Linked DNA regions of Homo sapiens: all the other regions are linked to region 1. The links are contacts of gene promoters, found by promoter capture Hi-C in human tissues and cell types (Jung and others, 2019). All regions are on one chromosome and are shown on one strand. Each heading gives the region's core, a stretch centred on a gene start or on the middle of the fragment in contact. The rest is flanking DNA. Distances are from core to core; before and after follow the strand shown. Region 1 holds the start of RNH1 (ribonuclease/angiogenin inhibitor 1). Region 2 holds the start of TALDO1 (transaldolase 1). Region 3 holds the start of IFITM3 (interferon induced transmembrane protein 3). Region 4 has its middle 21 kb from the start of IFITM3. Region 5 overlaps DEAF1 (DEAF1 transcription factor). Region 6 overlaps DEAF1 (DEAF1 transcription factor).

Region 1 (3,200 bases), core at 416-2,915:
TGCCTGGCTAAGTTTTTGTAATTTTAGTAGAGATGGGGTTTCATCATCTTGGCCAGGCTGGTCTTGAACTCCTGACCTCAGGTGATCTGCCTGCCTTGGCCTCCCAAAGTGTTGGAATTACAGGTGTGAGCCACCGCGCCCAGCCAGAGTTTCATCTTGTTGCCCGAACTGGAGTGCAATGGTGTGGTCTAGGCTCGCTGCAACCTCTGCTTCCCGTGTTCAAGCGATTCTCCTGCCTCAGCCTCCCAAGTAGCTGGAATTACAGGTGCCCACCACCATGCCTGGCTAATTTTTGTATTTTTAGTAGAGATGGGGTTTCACCACGTTGGCCAGGCTGGTCTTGAACTCCTGACCTCAGGTGATCCACCCTTCTCGGTCTCCCAAAGTGTTGGGGTTACAGGTGTGAGCCACCACGCCCGGCCAGAACCACCTTCTTTAAAGATGATCAGGCCGGGTGTAGTGGCTTATGCCAGTAATTCCAGCGATATGGGAGGCTGAAGCAGGAGGATCACTTGAGCCCAATTCAAGACCAGGCTGGGCAACACAGGGAGACCTCTTCTCTACATAAAATACAACAATTAGCCAGGCGTGCTGGCGCCTGTGGTACCAGCTACTTGGGAGGCTGAGGCGGGAGGATCACTGGAGTCCGGGAGGTGGAGGCTGCAGCGAGCTGGGATCGCGCCACTGCAGTACAGCCTAAGCAGTGGAGTGAGACCCTGTCTCGAAAACAAATACCTAATAAAGGCAGTCAGAGGAGAGGTTTAGCAAATTGCTAAAGAACAAATCTGAGATACCGTTAGTTTCCTTACTTGCAATCTTCATCTGCCAAAATGTCAATTCTGTGAATTGCGGACTAGTCAAAAACTTAAAGAAAACCCACTTTTGTGGAGGTGGGGTCGCTTTGCGTTTCCCAGGCTGGTCTGGAACTCGGCCTGCGCCCCTCAGTGCCAGGGCTCCAGGCGACGCTCGGGTGTCGGCAGCAGAGTGGACGCAGGAGCAGCTCGGACCGCGCTCAGAACACTCGGGACGAGGCCGCGGCTCCGCAGGCCTTGCGGGCTGGGGTCCCACGAAACAAAGGCGGCAGCCAGTGGCCAGGACGGGCAGCGTGGTTCACGGGGCCGTGGCTCCCTCGGGGGTCGCGAGCTCGGCGCAAACGAGCCCCTCTACCAAGGTCGCCTAGAGTCGCGACCCCGACATGCGGAGCCGCCCCAGGGGGGTTTCTCCCGGGTCCCTCCTGTCCCGAGGCGGCCGCTTTCTCCGGGGGCCGCGCCCCGCGCCCCAGCAAGGCCCGACCCGCGCCTGCGATTCCGCCCCCAAGGCGCTGCCGCACCGGGCCCCGGCCTCTTCCTCCGAGGATTCTCAGGAATTGCTGAGACTTGCGTGCCAGTGCGAGGCCCACAACACGCACACGCGCCCGCGCCCGCCAGACCCCGCCCCCGGCACCAAGCCCCGCCTACTGGGGGAGACCACGCCCCCAAGCGAGACCTCCCTCACCGAGCCACGCCCCACCAGGCCCCGCCGCTGCGCCAAGACTGTGCTTAGCCGAGCCCCGCCCGCCGGGCCCCGCCCCGACCCCGAGACTACTCCCGCCAGGCCCCGCCCCCGCGCCGAGCCCCGCCCAGTAGTCCCCGCCCACGCACCTGACCACGCCCACGAGCCGGCTCGAACACGCCCGCGCCGCTGACTGGCGGGTGGGGTTGTCGACACGTTCAACCCGTTCTGCTGGCTCGAGAACGAAGTAGGCCGTCTCGCTCTGGGTCTCCAGGCCCGCGACCGTCCGCCAGTCGTCCCGAGGTCAGTAGCTCCAGCGGTGCGTCAGCGTCTAGCCAGGCCTCGCCCACGCCGGCCTTGGTCGGGCTTCTTGTAGACGCGGGCCTGGCGCTATTGAGGCCGTTGCTGCGCGGGCGAGTGGCGCGCTCCCGTGGCGGGGCGGGGTCGGGCGGGGCAGGGGTCCGGGGCTATCGAGGCGGGGCCGAGGTTGCGCTGGGCAGCTGCGCCGCCGGGCGGACGTGGCGCGCCTTGAGGACGTCATCGCGGTGCACGCTCCCCTTTGGGGCTTGCCGGAAGTCCTTGCCCGGGGCGCGGGGCTGCGCCTGCGTGGTTCGTCCTCACGTGGCCGTCAAGCCCTCTAGTGCCTTAGATTCCAGCGAGCTACGCAAGCAATCCTGGCCCAGCCGAGCTTGCTTCCCCAAATCCCGTAATCCTTGACCTTATTCCCCCAAAGAAGCGGCCTCCCGGGAAGGAGCGCCCTGGCGGAGAAGACTCGAACGGCTCCCACAGCCGGGCGTTGGGGGAAAGGTGGGCGGTCTTGGTCGTGCGAGGTCGGGGAGGGAGGGTCCTCCGCTCTCCATTGCGGAGCTTCGCTCCGGGACCACCGGGGGACCGGACGCCGGGCCGCGAAGCTGCCGCCTGGGGCTGCGGGGAGGAGAGCAACATAACTGGAATGGCACTTAGGGGCCGGTGTCAGGGTTGTCACCGGGGTTGGCGGAAATGACGAAGGGGCCCCAGGCACGTCGTGTTACTGGGCGAGGTTCCAGCCAAGGTGCCCACGCGCCTTGGGGGAAACCAGAGGACTTCTGCACCGTTTCCCGAGGACAGTTTGGCAGTGTTTCAGAAGGGCCTTAGAACCAGGCAGGCCCCCTTCTAGGATGGTGGAAAGCCTAAAGATCTGAAAACGGTCTCAAGTGTCGTCTTAGCGATTGGCTGACTAAACCGAATGCAAGCCGGAGACTGCACACGATGTTGCCGTTAACAGTTACACTGGGCCGGGCAGTCAGAGGCAGGCGGATCACCTGAGGTCAGGAGTTCGAGAACAGCCTGGCCAACATGGTGAAAACCCGTCTCTACTAAAAATACAAAATTAGCCGGGCGTGGTGGCAGGCGCCTATAATCCCAGCTACTTGGGAGGTTGAGGTAGGAGAATGGCTTGAACTCAGGAGGCGGAGGTTGCGGTGAGCCGAGATCGTGCCACTGCACTCCAGCCGGCTGACAAGAGCGAAACTCCTTCTCAAAAAAAAAAAAAAAAAAAAAAAGTTACATTAGGCTGGGTGCGCTGCAGCCTGTAATCCCAGCACTTTGGGAGGCCGAGGCGGGCGGATCTCTTGAGCCCAGGAGTTTGCGACCAACATACTGAGTTTGGCCAAAATAGTGAGACCCCCGTCTCTACAAAAGATAGAAAAAATTAGCCAGTTGCGGTAGTG
Region 2 (3,200 bases), core at 306-2,805, 240 kb before region 1:
CTGCCAAGTGTAATGGACCTGACACTCCGCACCAGCTCTGCCCTAACTGGTGAGGGCCAGTAAGGAACAATACAGATGAGCGCTCTGTCCACCAGGCAAACTGCAAATTATTCTCAGTGCTAAGAAGGGAAAAAACTGAGCAGCAGAAAAATGTGTAGCCCCTTTTCTGGAGCTTTCTTTCTTATGAAGAGAGGTCTGGACTACAACGGGGGGGCTGTGTGTGTGAGGGATTCACAGCTCTAGCTTTGGATCTCCCAAAGAGGGGTCCGGAGCAGACTGTGGCACCCCAAGCCAGTCACTGAATCCCCATATTTTATGGTTAAGCAGCCAAACATGCCAATTCACTCTCTAGGCTCTGCTAGATAAACAATGCCCTTACTCAGTTACCAAAGAGGAATTAAAGCCTGTTTCTCAAGTCACCATGAGAAAGCAGAAAAGAGAGGAAGTCACTTCCGTATTAGGTGCTCGCAGCATTCATCCATGAAGCGTTTCATGATTTTCTTAAAAAATATTACTTGTTCTCAACAAAACATAGACACAAGGCTCGTCTACTCTGCACTGCAGAGGACAGAAGAGCTAAGTATTAATAAATAATCCTTCTTTGTATTTTCCAAGTTCTCTCCAATGTAAACAACTCAAGCCCAGGAAAATCCAGTATTTAACAGTGTACCAACCCTGTGCTTTCATGGGCACCGGCTTTTACCCACCCGGTGCGTCTGGCGGTGGCTGTCCAGCAGGCCGGGCACCTGCCGCCCACGGAGTTGTCCCACTGGGCACCGCAGGGCTCAAGGGCGATGGCAGCACTGGCAGCTTCTGGTCAGAGCTAGCTGATGTCCCCGCTCTGCAGACATCAGCCCAACAAAATTGCATCTCGCTGACCACAAACTGGCCACGTGGAAGTCAGCTCGAAGCTCTACCCTGAATCTCTCCTGAACTCAAAGGCTCTGAAAGCTGCCTCGACCCATGAAGGTGCACAGAGGGGCTCCCGCGGGCTGCCCACAGCCCGTCCCGGGTGCGGGGTCTGAGGGCGCAGCCGACCCCACCCTGGGCGGAGGGCGAGGCTGGGGCTCCGGCTTCGTGCCCCACGGCTCGCAAGGACCCGTCAGTACCGCCCGCACCGCTGACCCCAGCACCGAGCCCCTCACGGCTGACCCCAGCTCCTCACGGCTGCCCCCGGCCCTGCTCCCTCACGGCCGACCCGGGCCCCGTTCCCCTCACGGTCGCCGCTGGCCCTGCGCCTCTCACGGCCGACCCGGGCCCCGCTCCCCTCACGGCTGTCCCTGGCCCCAACATCCGGCACCTGCGCTCATTCCTCCCGGAACGAGCCGCCCGGGGCACCGCCACCCGGTCCGCGTCCCGGAACGGGAGACCCGGGGAAATCGGGGCGCCGGGGCCTCTGGAGGGCGCTTGCGCCGCGCCCGGGCTCCGCGCCGTCCTCACCGTGGAAGTCGCCCGTGTCGGCCACCACGGTGGTGAACTGCTTGAGCTGGTCCAGCGCGGACTCCATCCTCTGACGCTTCACGGGTGAGCTCGACATAGCAAGACCGAGGGGTCTGCGGCGGCGGCGGCGGCGACGGGACGGGCGCGCGGACGGCCCACAATGCCCCGCGGGCGGCTGCCAATCGGAAAGCGGCGCGGGAGGGCGAGGCCCGCTGGTCCCTGCGCGCCTGGACGAAGCCCCGCCCCCGGGGACGAAGCCCGAGCGCCACTGCCGGCCGCGCACCGCAGCTGCGGATCCTACAGGCTGGGTCTCCCCAGGTCCTCAGCAGCCGCCGCGGACGGGCCCGGGAAAACACCTGCACGACACGGGGCGGCTGGGCCTCGCCTCCTTCCTGCCCCGCGGGACGCACCGGGAGGGCTGGAGGAGATGGACCTGGCCCGGGTGCCGACTCTGCGGGGCTGAACCCGCCAGGGCCGAACCCGGCGATGCAGGATCCATGGTGGGGCCAGGACTGGGGTCGGGGGCCGCTGCAGGAAGCAGGGGAGGGAGCGGCGGGGGACGCCCTGCGGGTGCAGGAGGCAGAGCAGGGGGCGGCTGCAGAGCCCGGGCGCCGGACGCGGCGGGGAACCTGCTTCTGGGAATCTGTTCCCCTGAGTCCTAAGCCCAGAGGTGTCCGGGGGACCGAACGGCGAGGCAGGCGTAGGAGGCCCAGCTGCCCTGCTTCTTACCATCGCTGACTTGCAGAGTTCCTTGTATATTCTGATCAAGTCTCTGTCGCTTGTGTCTGCGTTGCAGACACTGTAACCGCCCCATGGGTTCGCCTTGCCAGCTGCCGGGACAGAGTCTATTGTCAAGACAGGGGAATTGCAATAGAGAAAGCATAATTCACACAGAGCCGATTGTTCGGGAGACCAGAGTTTTATTCCTCAAATCAGTCTCCCCAAAACTCGGGGATCCCAGTATTTAAGAATAATTTGGTGGGTAGGGGGCCAGTGAGTCAGAAGTGCTGACTGGTCAGCTAGGGATGAAATCACAGGGAGTCGAAGCTGTCCGCTTATGCTGAGTCAGTCCCTGGGTAGAGGCCACACAACTGGTTGGCAGGTCCAGGTGGGGCCATCCGGTTGTCAGAAATGCAAAAACCTGAAAAGACTTTTTTTTTTTTTTGAGACGGAATCTCGCCCTTGTTGCCCAGGCTGGAGTGCAGTGGCGCGATCTTGGCTAACTACAACCTCCGCCTCCCGGGTTCGAGCGATTTTCCTGCCTCAGCCTCCCGAGTAGCTGGAATTACAGGCGCTCACCACCACGCCCGGCTAATTTTTGTATTTTTAGTACAGACGGGGTTTCATCATGTTGGCCAGCATGGTCTCGATCTCCTGACCTCGTGATCCGCCCACCTCAGTCTCCCAAAGTGCTGGGATTCCAGGCGTGAGCCACCGCGCCCGGCGGAAAAGACTTCTTAAAAGGCAAATCCTAGGCTGACGCGGTGGCTCAGGCCTGGAATCCCAGCACATTGAAAGGCCAAAGCAGGCGATCACTTGAGGTCAGGAGTTGGAGACCAGCGTGGCCAACATGCAAAACCCCGTCTCTACTAAAAATACAAAATTAGCCAGGCGTGGTGGCACATGGCTGTAATCCCAGCTACTTGGGAGGCTGAGGCAGGAGAATGGCTTGAACCTGGGAGGTGGAGGTTGCAGTGAGCCGAGATTGTCCCTCTGTACACTAACCTGGGCTACAGAACGAGACTCCATTTAAAAAAAAA
Region 3 (2,693 bases), core at 120-2,619, 190 kb after region 1:
GCTGCCTGGGCACCATAGTGAAGGTAATGGGATAATCCAGCTGCCTGGGCACCACAGTGAGGGTTATGGGATAATCCAGCTGCCTGGGCACCACACTGAAGGTAATGGGATAATCCGGCTGCCTGGGCACCACACTGAAGGTAATGGGATAATCCGGCTGCCTGGGCACCACAGTGAGGGTTATGGGATAATCCAGCTGCCTGGGCACCATAGTGAAGGTAATGGGATAATCCAGCTGCCTGGGCACCACACTGAAGGTAATGGGATAATCCGGCTGCCTGGGCACCACACTGAAGGTAATGGGATAATCCGGCTGCCTGGGCACCACAGTGAGGGTTATGGGATAATCCAGCTGCCTGGGCACCATAGTGAAGGTAATGGGATAATCCAGCTGCCTGGGCACCACAGTGAGGGTTATGGGATAATCCAGCTGCCTGGGCACCACACTGAAGGTAATGGGATAATCCGGCTGCCTGGGCACCACACTGAAGGTAATGGGATAATCCGGCTGCCTGGGCACCACAGTGAGGGTTATGGGATAATCCAGCTGCCTGGGCACCATAGTGAAGGTAATGGGATAATCCGGCTGCCTGGGCACCACAGTGAGGGTTATGGGATAATCCAGCTGCCTGGGCACCATAGTGAAGGTAATGGGATAATCCAGCTGCCTGGGCACCATAGTGAAGGTAATGGGATAATCCAGCTGCCTGGGCACCATAGTGAAGGTAATGGGATAATCCAGCTGCCTGGGCACCATAGTGAAGGTAATGGGATAATCCAGCTGCCTGGGCACCATAGTGAAGGTAATGGGATAATCCAGCTGCCTGGGCACCATAGTGAAGGTAATGGGATAATCCAGCTGCCTGGGCACCACAGTGAGGGTTATGGGAGACGGGGTTTCACCGTGTCAGCCAGGATGGTCTCGATCTCCTGACCTCATGATCCTCCCACCTCAGCCTCCCAAAGTGCTGGGATTACAGGCGTGAGCCGCGGCGCCCGGCAGAGGTGAGGGCTTTGGGGGAACGGTTGTGGGGCCTGGAGTGTGGAGGCGTCAGCGCAGGCCTGGCAGGAGCCCTGAACCGGGACAGTGGGGTCCTGCAGCTGCTGGCCTGGGGTGTGGAGACCCCCAACACAGGGGAAGTCTCCAGGACCCCACACCACTAACAAGATGAGCCTTGTGCTCCCTTGGGCTCTAGAGAGGAAGCCCCTCTTAGCCCTCAGCCCCTCTTTCCTCCCTCTCCTAAAGTAATTTGATCCTCAGGAATTTGTTCCGCCCTCATCTGGCCCCGGCCAAATCCCGATTTGACAAATGCCAGGAAAAGGAAACTGTTGAGAAACCGAAACTACTGGGGAAAGGGAGGGCTCACTGAGAACCATCCCAGTAACCCGACCGCCGCTGGTCTTCGCTGGACACCATGAATCACACTGTCCAAACCTTCTTCTCTCCTGTCAACAGTGGCCAGCCCCCCAACTATGAGATGCTCAAGGAGGAGCACGAGGTGGCTGTGCTGGGGGCGCCCCACAACCCTGCTCCCCCGACGTCCACCGTGATCCACATCCGCAGCGAGACCTCCGTGCCCGACCATGTCGTCTGGTCCCTGTTCAACACCCTCTTCATGAACCCCTGCTGCCTGGGCTTCATAGCATTCGCCTACTCCGTGAAGGTGCGTATGGCCCCAGGGAATGCTCAGAGGGTGCCGCTGAGCCTGGAGCTCCACCTGCCCACATGCTGCCTGGGGTGGGGACTTGTGTGTCCCTGTGACTGTGAGTTTGTGTGCACCTCTGTCCCGTGTGTGCCCACGTCAGTGGCTTTGTCTGTGTGATCTGTGTGTGTGTGTGGCTTGGGGAATCTGCCCAGTGCAGGTTTAGGAGGAGGCTCCAGGAGGCTGGCTGGCTGGCTCAGAGTCTGTCCCCGGCTATCCACTAGCCCAGAGCAGTTCTCCCTATAGCCCAGTAAGAAATTACACCTTCACCTTCCAGACTGGCACCCAGGCTCTCCCAGAAAGTGAGAAGGGAACTCACAGGTGACTTCACCCCATGGTGGGGAGAACAGCCTGTGCTGAGGTCAAGGCAGAAGGAGGATGAGCCCCGAGGCTCCTGGAGAGTCTGAGCCCGGGTGAGGAAGGGGAGGAGGTGGTCCCTGATCTCAGGGCGGGGAGAGCCAATGAGGAGACGGAGCCATAGCACGCGGCTCTCAGCTGGGGGATCCTGGTCCCCTCACCATCTCCTCTCCCCCAGTCTAGGGACAGGAAGATGGTTGGCGACGTGACCGGGGCCCAGGCCTATGCCTCCACCGCCAAGTGCCTGAACATCTGGGCCCTGATTCTGGGCATCCTCATGACCATTCTGCTCATCGTCATCCCAGTGCTGATCTTCCAGGCCTATGGATAGATCAGGAGGCATCACTGAGGCCAGGAGCTCTGCCCATGACCTGTATCCCACGTACTCCAACTTCCATTCCTCGCCCTGCCCCCGGAGCCGAGTCCTGTATCAGCCCTTTATCCTCACACGCTTTTCTACAATGGCATTCAATAAAGTGCACGTGTTTCTGGTGCTGCTGCGACTTCACCTGGGGAGGGGTCTGGCTGAGGGTTCGGAGCGTGGTTCTGAGACTGAGCAGGTTGGTCAGCCCCTGCACTGCCCCTTCCGGCCTCTGTGCATCTCTTGGGGACCGGGCAAGTGCTCAGGCCTTC
Region 4 (3,200 bases), core at 412-2,911, 170 kb after region 1:
AAAAATTCCAGGGCCAAGCACAGTGGCTCATGCCTGTAATCCCAGCACTTTGGGAGGCTGAGGTGGGCAGATCACGAGGTCAGGAGTTCAAGACCAGCCTGGCCAAGATGGTGAAACCCTGTCTCTACTAAAACTACAAAAATTAGCCAGGTGTGGTGGCAGGTGCCTGTAATCCCAGCTGCTCGGGAGGCTGAAGCAGGAGAATCGCTTGAACTCGGGGGGCGGAGGTTGCAGTGAGCCGAGATCGTGCCATTGCACTCCAGCCTGGGCGACAGAGTGATACTCAGTCTCAAAAAAAAAAAAAAAAATCCAGACTAGATCTAGCGTCAAACTGGATCTATCAGAAACTGAACTGGGCCTAGTAGGCATCTTCACATAGGTAAGGGTTTGGGAAGACAGAATAATGAGTTTATCTGAATCCACAGAGTCTGAGATTCCTCCACCTGAGAACCAGTACTTGTCTAGAGAAACTGGTGAACTTTACCAAAGACACCTTAGAATTAAGTGGTGGCCGCAGTGGGTAAGTGATGACCTAGACAAAGCTGTTCATCTGTGGTATCCACTGCAAAAGATGGGATCCAAAGCAACTAAGAGAAAATGGAATGCATTTTTTAATTCACATGTTGTTTTTGACACAGAGTCTCACTCTGTCACCCAGGCTGGAGTGCAGTAGTGTGATCTCGGCTCACTGCAACCTCCACCTCCTGGGTTCAAGTGATTCTCCTGCCTCAGCCTCCTGAGTAGCTGGGACTACAGGCATGCACCACCAAGCCCAGCTAATTTTTTGTATTTTTAGTAGAGATGGGTTTTCGCCATGTTGCCGGGCTGGTCTCGAACTCCTGAGCTCAAGTGATCCATCTGCCTCAGCCTCCCAAAGTGCTGGGATTACAGGCGAGAACCTCCATGCCCAGATGATTTTTTGATTGGCATGCACAGGCTGCTAAAAGACTAAATGAATCCCAAGTTGTCTCTCTAAAAGACTCCATAGAAAAAGGCAAATAGAAAACCAAAGCAGTTAATTGACAATGAAAAAGGGCATGTCTACTGACTCAGCACAGATGAGCCCTTCTCTCTTTCTCTCCATCTTGCTCTGCCAGATTGCTCTGAACTACTCACTTTTTTGCTCAGTAACTTTTATACCCCAGAGGCAAAAAGAAAGTTAGCCAAACTTTCATCGTGTTAGGCCTTTAGATCAACCAGGCCTTCCTTCTTTAACCACATTGACATCTTGATTAAAATCTGAGCTCAGAACAATAGTGAAAGGTTTCCCTGTCCCAGAAATTTGCTGATGATGTAGAATTATATCCTGGCCTATTCATGCTAACTCCAGGCATGGAAAATGCTTGCCAGTTCATCAGTAGGCGCCACCCTGAACTCAGTGATGGAGTTAAAAAGCATAAACTGGGCTGAGAAGCCTCTGATCTAGCCAACGTAGGCCCCAAATGTGCTACTCTGGCATAAAGATTATTTTGATCCAATTCTTTTGAGACCCTTTGTAAGAAAAATTTAATTCTATAAAGGAGATAGAAGTGGTGGCTCATGCCTATAATGCCAGCACTTTGGGAGGCTGAGGGAGGAGGGTTGCTTGAGCCCAGGAGTTCAAGACCAGCCTGGGTGACATAGTAAGAGTCGGTGTATTAGTCCCTTCTCTCATTGCTGTAAAGAACTATCTGAGTCTGGGTAATTTATACAGAAAAGAGGTTTAGGCTGGGTGTGGTGGCTCATGCCTTAATCACAGCACTTTGGGAGGCTGAGGCAGGTTGAGGTCAGGAGTTTGAGACCAGCCTGGCCAACATGGTGAAACCCCATCTCTACTAAAAATACAAAAATTAGCCAGGTATGGTGGCGTGCACCTGTAATCCCAGCTACTCAGCTGGCTAAGGCAGGACAATTGCTTCAGTCTGGGAGGTGGACGTTGTAGTGAGCTGAGATCGCGCCACTGCACTCCAGCCTGGGTGACACAGCAAGACTGTGTCTCAAAAAAAAAAAAGGCAAAAGAAAAGAGGACACATGGCTGGGGAGGCCTCAGGAAAGTTACAATCATGGCAGAAGGTGAAGAGGAAGGGGGCACGTCTTGCATGGCTGGAGCAGGAGGAAGAGACAGAAGGGGGAGGTGCCACACACTTTTAAACAACCAGATCTCATGAGAACTCACTATCCTGAGAACAGCAAGGGGTAAGTCTGCCCCCATGATCCAATCACCTCCCACCAGGCTCCTCCTCCAACACTGAGGATTACAATTTGACATGAGATTTGGGTGGGGACACAAATCCAAACCCTCTCACCCCATCTTTACAAAGAAATTTAACCAACAGTTTGAGGTTGCAGTGAGCTATGATCGCACCACTGCACTCCAGCCGGGTTGTAAAATAAGACTCTGTCTCAAAACAAAACAAAACAAAACAAAGTAAACAACAAAAAAAAAGAATGGAGAAAGCATTGATTTAAATCTACATCACAAAACTTACCTTTACTTAGCGTGCATTTCTGACCCCCATCTTGGCTTAATTAGCGCTTTGCTTGCTTTCTCTCTCTTTTTTCTTTTCTTTTCTTTCCTTTCCTTTTCCTTCCTTCCTTTCTTTCTCATTCCTTCCTTCTTCCCTTCCCTTTCCTTCCTTTCTTCCTTCCCTCCTTCCTCCTCTTTCCTTTTCCTTCCTTCCTTTTCTTTTTCTTTCTTTCTTTTTTCTTTCTTTCCTTCCTTCCTTCTTTCCTTGTTCTTGCTTTTTTCTTTCTTCTTTCCTTCCCTTCCCTTCCCTTCCCTCCCTTCCTTCCTTCTTTCTTTCCTTGTTCTTGCTTGCTTGCTTTTTTCTTTCTTTCCTTTCCTTCCCTTCCCTTCCCATCCCTTCCCCTTCCTTCCTTCCTTCCTTCTTTCTCCTTCTCTTTTTTTCTCTTCCTTTCTTTCTTTTCTCTTTCTCTTTCTTTTTTTCATTTCTTTCTTTTTTTCTCTTCTTCAAATGAAGATATTTAAGGCTGAAGTCTAAGTTCTGTGCCTTTGAGATGTAAATTTTCTACTCTGCTCAAACACCTGAGGGTTATCTCTTTGATATGCAAATTTTGGGAAGCCATCTTATGAGAAAAGAAAAAAAAAGAGCTATATGGAAATTGGGCAAATGAAAAACCTTAAGTCTTTCCCGCAAATATTAATAAAAGCTTTAATCATCTGGCAAGTAATTTTGACTTGTTCCATGTGCCAGAAACAA
Region 5 (3,200 bases), core at 505-3,004, 160 kb before region 1:
GCCATGTTGGCCAGACCGGTCTTGAACACCTGACCGACCTCAGGTGATTCACCTGCCTCGGCCTCCCAAAGTGCTGGGATTATAGGCATGACCTACCTGGGTTGTCACTTTTTATCATTCACCAGTTTAAAGATGTCTTTCCATCATCTTCTGGCCAGCCTGCCTACCTGCCTTCCTTCCTTCCTTCCTTCCTTTCCTCTTTTCCTCCTTCCCTCCTTCCCTCCCTCCCTCCCTCTCTCCTTCCTTCCTTCCTTCCTCCCTCCCTCCCTCCATCCCTCCCTTCCTTCCTTCTTTTTTCTTTCTTTTTTGAGACAGGGTCACTGTCTGTCACCGAGGCTAAGAAGCAGTGTTGTGGTCACATCTCAATGCAGCCTTGAGTTCCTGGGCTCAGGTGATCTTCCCTTAGCCTCCAGAGTAGCTAGGACTACCGGCACTGGCCACTACTCCCGGCCAATTTTTAGCTGGGGTTTCACCATGATGCCCAGGCTGGCCGCAAACTCCTTGGCTCAAGCGATCCTCTTACCTCAGCCTTCTGAGTAGCTGGGACTACACATGTGTACCACCATGCCCAGCTATTTTTTTGTTTGTTTTGTATAGATGGGGTTTCACTATGTTTCTCAGGCTGGTCTTGAACTCCTGGACTCAAGCAACCCACCTTCCTTGGCCTCCTAAAGTACTGGGATTACCAGCATGAACCACTGCTCCTGGCTATAACTATTTCTTTTTTTCTTTTTTTTTTTTTTTTTTTTTTTTGGAGACAGAGTCTTGCTCTCCAGGCTAGAGTGCAGTGACACGATCTCAGCTCACTGCAAGCTCTACCTCCCAGGTTCAAGCGATCTCTTGCCTCAGCCTTCCAAGTAGATGGGACTACAAGTGTGCACCACCACACCTGGCTAATACTTTGTTGTTTTGTTTTGTTTTGAGACGGAGTCTTGCTCTGTCGCCCAGGGTTGGAGTGCAGTGGCACGATCTCAGCTCACTGCAACCTCTGCCTCCCGGGTTCAAGTGATTCTCCTGCCTCAGCCTCCCGAGTAGCTGGGACTACAGGTGCATGCCACCACTCCTGGCTAATTTTCTGTATTTTTGGTAGAGAGGAGGTTTCACCATGTTAGCCAGGATGTTCACAATCTCCTAACCTCGTGATCTGCCCGCCTGGGATTACAGGTGTGAGCCACCGTGCCCAGCCTCAGGATCTGCTTCTTTTGGCTACTTTTTCCCTTCATCATGGATCCTGTTATCCCTTCTTCACACGTCCAGTACTTCCTGATTGTGTGTTGGAATTTTAGTTTATATACTGTTTATATGGTAGAGTTTATATGGTAGAGACTCTGAATTTTGTTGGATTCTGTTGTCTTCCCCTGAAGAGTGTTGGGCTTTGTTCTCGCAGGCTGAATTCTTATGGATCACCCTGAAGAGGATCAGTGTTGATGCTGTTAGGGCAGGTCTGTCTGGCTTTTTCTTCTGCCTGACACATCCTTAGTCTTGGATCTGCGAAGCTGTGGTTTTCTGGATGTTCCTGGGAAGTCCGTGGTGTTTTTAAGCCTCTAACTTGTGAAGGTTCAAACTCCAGACTTTCAGGTGGTGAGCAGCAGCCGCAGTCTCTGCTCAGTGTTCTCGGTCTTCAGCCGTCCATTTCTGCTGAGTCTTCCCCACATGCTGTGTCATCAGCTCAGGGTCAAACAAGGACGTGGGGAGCGTTTATGTGCTGGATGGGAGTGTCCTCTCTCTGTGCTTGCTCCTTTCTAGGGTTTCTCCCCTCATTTTCCAGCCACTTTGTCAGCTCTGGCCAGGGTGACTGCAGCCTGCTACCACGGTGTGGCCGCCCATGTCTGGTGGCCTGGGGCTGCCTCCAGGAGAAGCCTTCCTGGCTCCATCTCCCTGCTACGTCACCTGTCCCTGCTATGTCACCTGGCTGCCTCTCTCCCCTGCTCATTTGGCAGCCAGAGTGTCTGATGCTGCTGCGTCAGCTGGGTCCCTGCCCTGAAAGGCTGGGCTTTGAATTTTATTAGTAATTTTATGTATTTCTATGAGAGAAATGTGGCATGAAATCCCTTTATCCTTAAAATCCCGTTTGGTAGACAGCCAAGCCTTTTAAAACGTTAGAAAGGGCGGCCCCTTTCTCAGCTGGAAGCAGCTGTTGCAGTGAACATCCCGTGCATCTGAAAATGTCAGGAGTTAGAAGAAATGTCAGGAAGTGTTAGAAGCGATGTGTTCCCTTTCTCTAAAGCTGTGTATCGGACGTGTCATTCATAAAGCCATTACTTGAATAGCTGAGCCAGGACTCAGAGGCTCTGAGTGTGACACCCTGTCCTCCTCCTCTCAGTGTGAATAGCTGAGCCAGGACTTAGTTAGAGTGACCGAGTGTGACACCCTGTCCTCCTCCTCTCAGTGTGAATAGCTGAGCCAGGACTTACTTAGAGTGACCGAGTGTGACACCCTGTCCTTCTCCTCTCGGTGTGAATAGCTGAGCCAGGACTTACTTAGAGTGACCGAGTGTGACACCCTGTCCTCCTCCTCTCGGTGTGAATAGCTGAGCCAGGACTCAGAGTGACCGAGTGTGACGCCCTGTCCTCCTCCTCTCGGTGTGAATAGCTGAGCCAGGACTCAGAGTGACCGAGTGTGACGCCCTGTCCTCCTCCTCTCGGTGTGAATAGCTGAGCCAGGACTCAGAGTGACCGAGTGTGACGCCCTGTCCTCCTCCTCTCGGTGTGAATAGCTGAGCCAGGACTCAGAGTGACCGAGTGTGACGCCCTGTCCTCCTCCTCTCGGTGTGAATAGCTGAGCCAGGACTCAGAGTGACCGAGTGTGACGCCCTGTCCTCCTCCTCTCGGTGTGAATAGCTGAGCCAGGACTCAGAGTGACCGAGTGTGACGCCCTGTCCTCCTCCTCTCGGTGTGAATAGCTGAGCCAGGACTCAGAGTGACCGAGTGTGACGCCCTGTCCTCCTCCTCTCGGTGTGAATAGCTGAGCCAGGACTCAGAGTGACCGAGTGTGACGCCCTGTCCTCCTCCTCTCGGTGTGAATAGCTGAGCCAGGACTCAGAGTGACCGAGTGTGACGCCCTGTCCTCCTCCTCTCGGTGTGAATAGCTGAGCCAGGACTCAGAGTGACCGAGTGTGACGCCCTGTCCTCCTCCTCTCGGTGTGAATAGCTGAGCCAGGACTCAGAGTGACCGAGTGTGACGCCCTGTCCTCCTCCTCT
Region 6 (3,200 bases), core at 478-2,977, 140 kb before region 1:
CTACTTTTTTGTTTTGTTTTTGTTTTTGTTTTTGTTTTTGTTTTTTAGACAATCTCACTCTGTCGCCAGGCTGGAGTGCAATGGCACGATCTCAGCCCACTGCAACCTCAACGTCCCGGGTTCAAGTGATTTCCCTTCCTCAGCCTCCTGAGTAGCTGGGATTATAGGCATGAGCCACCACGTCCAACTAATTTTTGTGTTTTTAGTAGAGATGGGGTTTCTCCGTGTTGGCAAGGCTGGTCTCGAACTCCTGACCTCAGGTGATCCACTCGCCTCAGCCTCCCAAAGTTCTAAGATTACAGGTGTGAGCCACCGCACTGGAACTCGGCCTGTTTTGTTTTTTGAATTGAGACAGAGTATCACTTTGTTGCCCAGGCTGGAGTGCACTGGCGTAATCTCGGCTCACTGCAGCCTCCACCTCCTGGGTTTAAGGGATTCTCGTGCCTCATTCTCCCGAGTAACTGGGACTGCAGGAGTGTGCCATCAGACCCGGCTAATTTTTGTACTTTTAGTAGACACAGGGTTTCACCATGTTGGTCAGGCTGGTCTTGAGCTCCTGACCTCAAGTGATCCGCCCGCCTCGGCCTCCCAAACTGCTGGGATTATAGGTGTGAGCCACCACACCCAGCTGTTTTGTTTTTTTTTTTAAGTGGGGTCTCTCTCTGTCACCCAGGCCAGAGTGCAGTGGCACAATCTCAGCTCAGTGCAACCTCCGCTTCCCGGGTTCAAGCAATACTCCTCCTTCAGCCTCCCAAGTAACTGGGATTACAGGCACCCGCCACCATGCCCGTTTTTGTTGTTGTTGTTGTGTGTGTGTGTGATGGAGTCTCGCACGGTTGCCCAGGCTAGAGTGCAGTGGCGCAATCTCGGCTCACTGCAGCCTCTGCCTCCCGGGTTCAAGCGATTCTCCTGCCTCAGCCTCCCAAGTAGTTGGGATTACAGGCATGCACCACCATGCCAGGCTAATTTTTGTATTTTTCGTAGAGAGAGGGTTTTGCCATGTTGGCCAGGCTGGTCTTGAACTCCTGGGCTCAAGTAACCCTCCCACCTTGGCCTCCCAAAGTGCTGGGATTATAGGCATGAGCCACTGCGCAAAACCTAATCTCATGTTTAATGTAATTATCAATGTGAGTGGATTTGTGTTTATATTTGCAGTTTATGTTTCATGTTTTGCTCCTCTGTTCTTTCACTGCCTTCTTTTCTGTTAAATGTGTATTTTCTAGTTGTGTTTTCTAGTGTACCACTTCAATTCTTTTGTTGAACATTTTTAAACAGTATCTTTAAAGTTGTTATTTTCTTACTGCTATAGGTATTACAATATACATTTTAATTTATCTCAGTTTCAGTAGGAGGATAGAATTTCCTCAAGCAGGGAAAGTGTACTGCAGAGGCTGAGTGTATACATTCCTGGCAAACACTATTTGGGCCCCAATATAAGCACTTACTGAGCTCCTTTCACCTACAGAACGAACACATCCCGTTCTTTTAAAAGCTGCCTTCCAGCCGGACCTCCAGCCCAGGACACCCTGTCCTCAAGCCTCCCTCAGATCCTGTTCTTTAAAAAGCTGCCTTCAGCTGGGCACGGTGGCTCACGCCTGTAATCCCAGCACTTTGGGAGGCCGAGGCGGGCGGATCACGAGGTCAGGAGATCGAGACCATCCTGGCTAACATGGTGAAACCCCGTCTCTACTAAAAATACAAAAAAATTAGCTTGGCGTGGTGGTGGGCGCCTGTAGTCCCAGGTACTCGGGAGGCTGAGGCAGGAGAATGGCATGAACCCGGGAGGCGGAGCTTGCAGTGAGCCGAGATCGTGCCACAGCACTCCAGCCTGGGAGACAAAGGGAGACTCCGTCTCAAAAAAAAAAAAAAAAGGCAGTGATAATTTTAAAAATTAATTGTAGAGGACTTGGTATGTACACAAAAGTATACACGAGTTTATGCATGTTATGAAGCCCCAACAGGAATCCCCTGCTCCCAGCACCGCCTGGGTCAAGTCCACCCACCTGCTCCCAGCACCGCCTGGGTCAAGTCCACCCACCTGCTCCCAGCACCGCCTGGGTCAAGTCCACCCACCTGCTCCCAGCACCGCCTGGGTCAAGTCCACCCACCTGCTCCCAGCACCGCCTGGGTCAAGTCCACCCACCTGCTCCCAGCACCGCCTGGGTCAAGTCCACCCACCTGCTCCCAGCACCGCCTGGGTCAAGTCCACCCACCTGCTCCCAGCACCGCCTGGGTCAAGTCCACCCACCTGCTCCCAGCACTGCCTGGATTGAGTCACCTACGTGCTGTGGTGGCAACACTTTTCTTTTAATCCTTAACTTTGGAAAATGTGAGACGTGCACATGAGTTGGATCGCCCAGGAGAGGCCCGTCGCCCTCACCTGTATCAGCTGCTTTAGCGCCTGCCCTCCTGGCTTGTCCCCCTCTCTCTTTGGGCTGAGGGCTGAGCATTTTAAAGCAAGCCCCACGCATCATTATTTTCATTTGTGAGGCCTGGATCACTGTAAGTCAGATTTGGATTGTGTTTTAATTGGATTTTTAGTCACTGTTTTTATTTCATTACTTATTTTTGGTTTTTATTTGTTCGTTTGTTTTTGGTTTTGTTTCTGTTTTTGAGACAGGGTCTGGCTCTGTCACCCAGGCTGGAGTGCAGCGGCGCGATCTTGGCTCACTGCAACCTCCACTTCCCAGGTTCAAGCGATTCTCCTGCCTCAGCCTCCCTAGTAGCTGGGGATTACAGGCACCCGCCACCACGTCCGGCTAATTTTTGTATTTTTAGCAGAGACGGGGTTTCACCATGTTGTTCAGGCTGGTCTTGAACTCCTGACCTCATGATCTGCCTGCCTTGGCCTCCCAAAGTGCTGAGATTACTGGCATGAGCCACCGTACCCAGCCTATTTTAGGTTTTCTATAGACAGGGTCTCGCTTTGTCACCCAGGCTGCAGTCCAGTGGTGCCATCACGGCTCACTACAGCCTTGATCTCCTGGCTCAAGTGATCCTCCTGCCTCTGTCTCCCAAGTAGCTTGGACCACAGGCATGAGCCACCACACCCAGCTAATTTTAAAACATTTTTTTTTTTTTATAGAGATAGGGTTTTGCTATGTTGCTCAGGCTGGTCTCCAACCCCTGACCTCAAGTGACCTCAACCTCCCGAAGTCATTGTTTTTACAGTCTGTGATGTTGGCTTTTCTCATTTATTT

What was found. Contacts are between HindIII fragments. The study calls those that stand out against the background at their distance.
Region 2: a contact is called between the fragment with the promoter of TALDO1 here and the fragment with the promoter of RNH1 in region 1, in 7 of the 25 tissues and cell types used here (H1 embryonic stem cells, dorsolateral prefrontal cortex, liver and 4 more).
Region 3: the fragment with the promoter of IFITM3 here is called in contact with the fragment with the promoter of RNH1 in region 1 in 1 of the 25 tissues and cell types used here (IMR-90 fibroblasts).
Region 4: a fragment that was not itself captured here is called in contact with the fragment with the promoter of RNH1 in region 1 in 2 of the 25 tissues and cell types used here (IMR-90 fibroblasts and lymphoblastoid cells).
Region 5: a fragment that was not itself captured here is called in contact with the fragment with the promoter of RNH1 in region 1 in 2 of the 25 tissues and cell types used here (liver and spleen).
Region 6: a contact is called between a fragment that was not itself captured here and the fragment with the promoter of RNH1 in region 1, in 2 of the 25 tissues and cell types used here (dorsolateral prefrontal cortex and lymphoblastoid cells).

What each region holds. Positions count from the first base shown.
Region 1 is chr11:505,707-508,906 of GRCh38, reverse strand. It overlaps RNH1 (ribonuclease/angiogenin inhibitor 1), which reads left to right and starts at 1,665. Exons shown (of 11, transcript NM_203387.3): 1 at 1,665-1,794. It also overlaps a transcript of LRRC56 not described here. RefSeq lists a cis regulatory region at 2,311 and an enhancer at 2,227-2,396. The HindIII fragment of the contact is 14,362 bases long and covers 1-3,200 here.
Region 2 is chr11:745,819-749,018 of GRCh38, reverse strand. It overlaps TALDO1 (transaldolase 1), which reads right to left and starts at 1,555. Exons shown (of 8, transcript NM_006755.2): 1 at 1,441-1,555. The coding sequence starts at 1,537. It overlaps LOC105376509 (a long non-coding RNA gene), which reads right to left. Exons shown (of 3, transcript XR_930962.3): 3 at 2,057-2,270. RefSeq lists silencers at 955-1,044, 1,145-1,434, 1,495-2,094 and enhancers at 1,274-1,922, 2,225-2,284, 1,923-2,571. The HindIII fragment of the contact is 22,782 bases long and covers 1-3,200 here.
Region 3 is chr11:319,536-322,228 of GRCh38, reverse strand. IFITM3 (interferon induced transmembrane protein 3) reads left to right here and starts at 1,369. Exons shown (of 2, transcript NM_021034.3): 1 at 1,369-1,664; 2 at 2,239-2,553. The coding sequence starts at 1,416. The coding sequence ends at 2,391. The region is part of intron 1 of IFITM3-AS1 (IFITM3 antisense RNA 1); the gene reads right to left. RefSeq lists enhancers at 1,019-1,574, 2,687-2,693. The HindIII fragment of the contact is 9,942 bases long and covers 1-2,533 here.
Region 4 is chr11:340,570-343,769 of GRCh38, reverse strand. No RefSeq gene overlaps it. Among named protein-coding and RNA genes, the nearest start is that of IFITM3, 21 kb to the right of the region's middle. The HindIII fragment of the contact is 5,319 bases long and covers 1-3,200 here.
Region 5 is chr11:664,427-667,626 of GRCh38, reverse strand. All of the region lies in intron 10 of DEAF1 (DEAF1 transcription factor), which reads left to right. Among named protein-coding and RNA genes, the nearest start is that of DRD4, 29 kb to the right of the region's middle. The HindIII fragment of the contact is 6,229 bases long and covers 1-3,200 here.
Region 6 is chr11:646,868-650,067 of GRCh38, reverse strand. All of the region lies in intron 11 of DEAF1 (DEAF1 transcription factor), which reads left to right. Among named protein-coding and RNA genes, the nearest start is that of DRD4, 11 kb to the right of the region's middle. The HindIII fragment of the contact is 6,426 bases long and covers 1-3,200 here.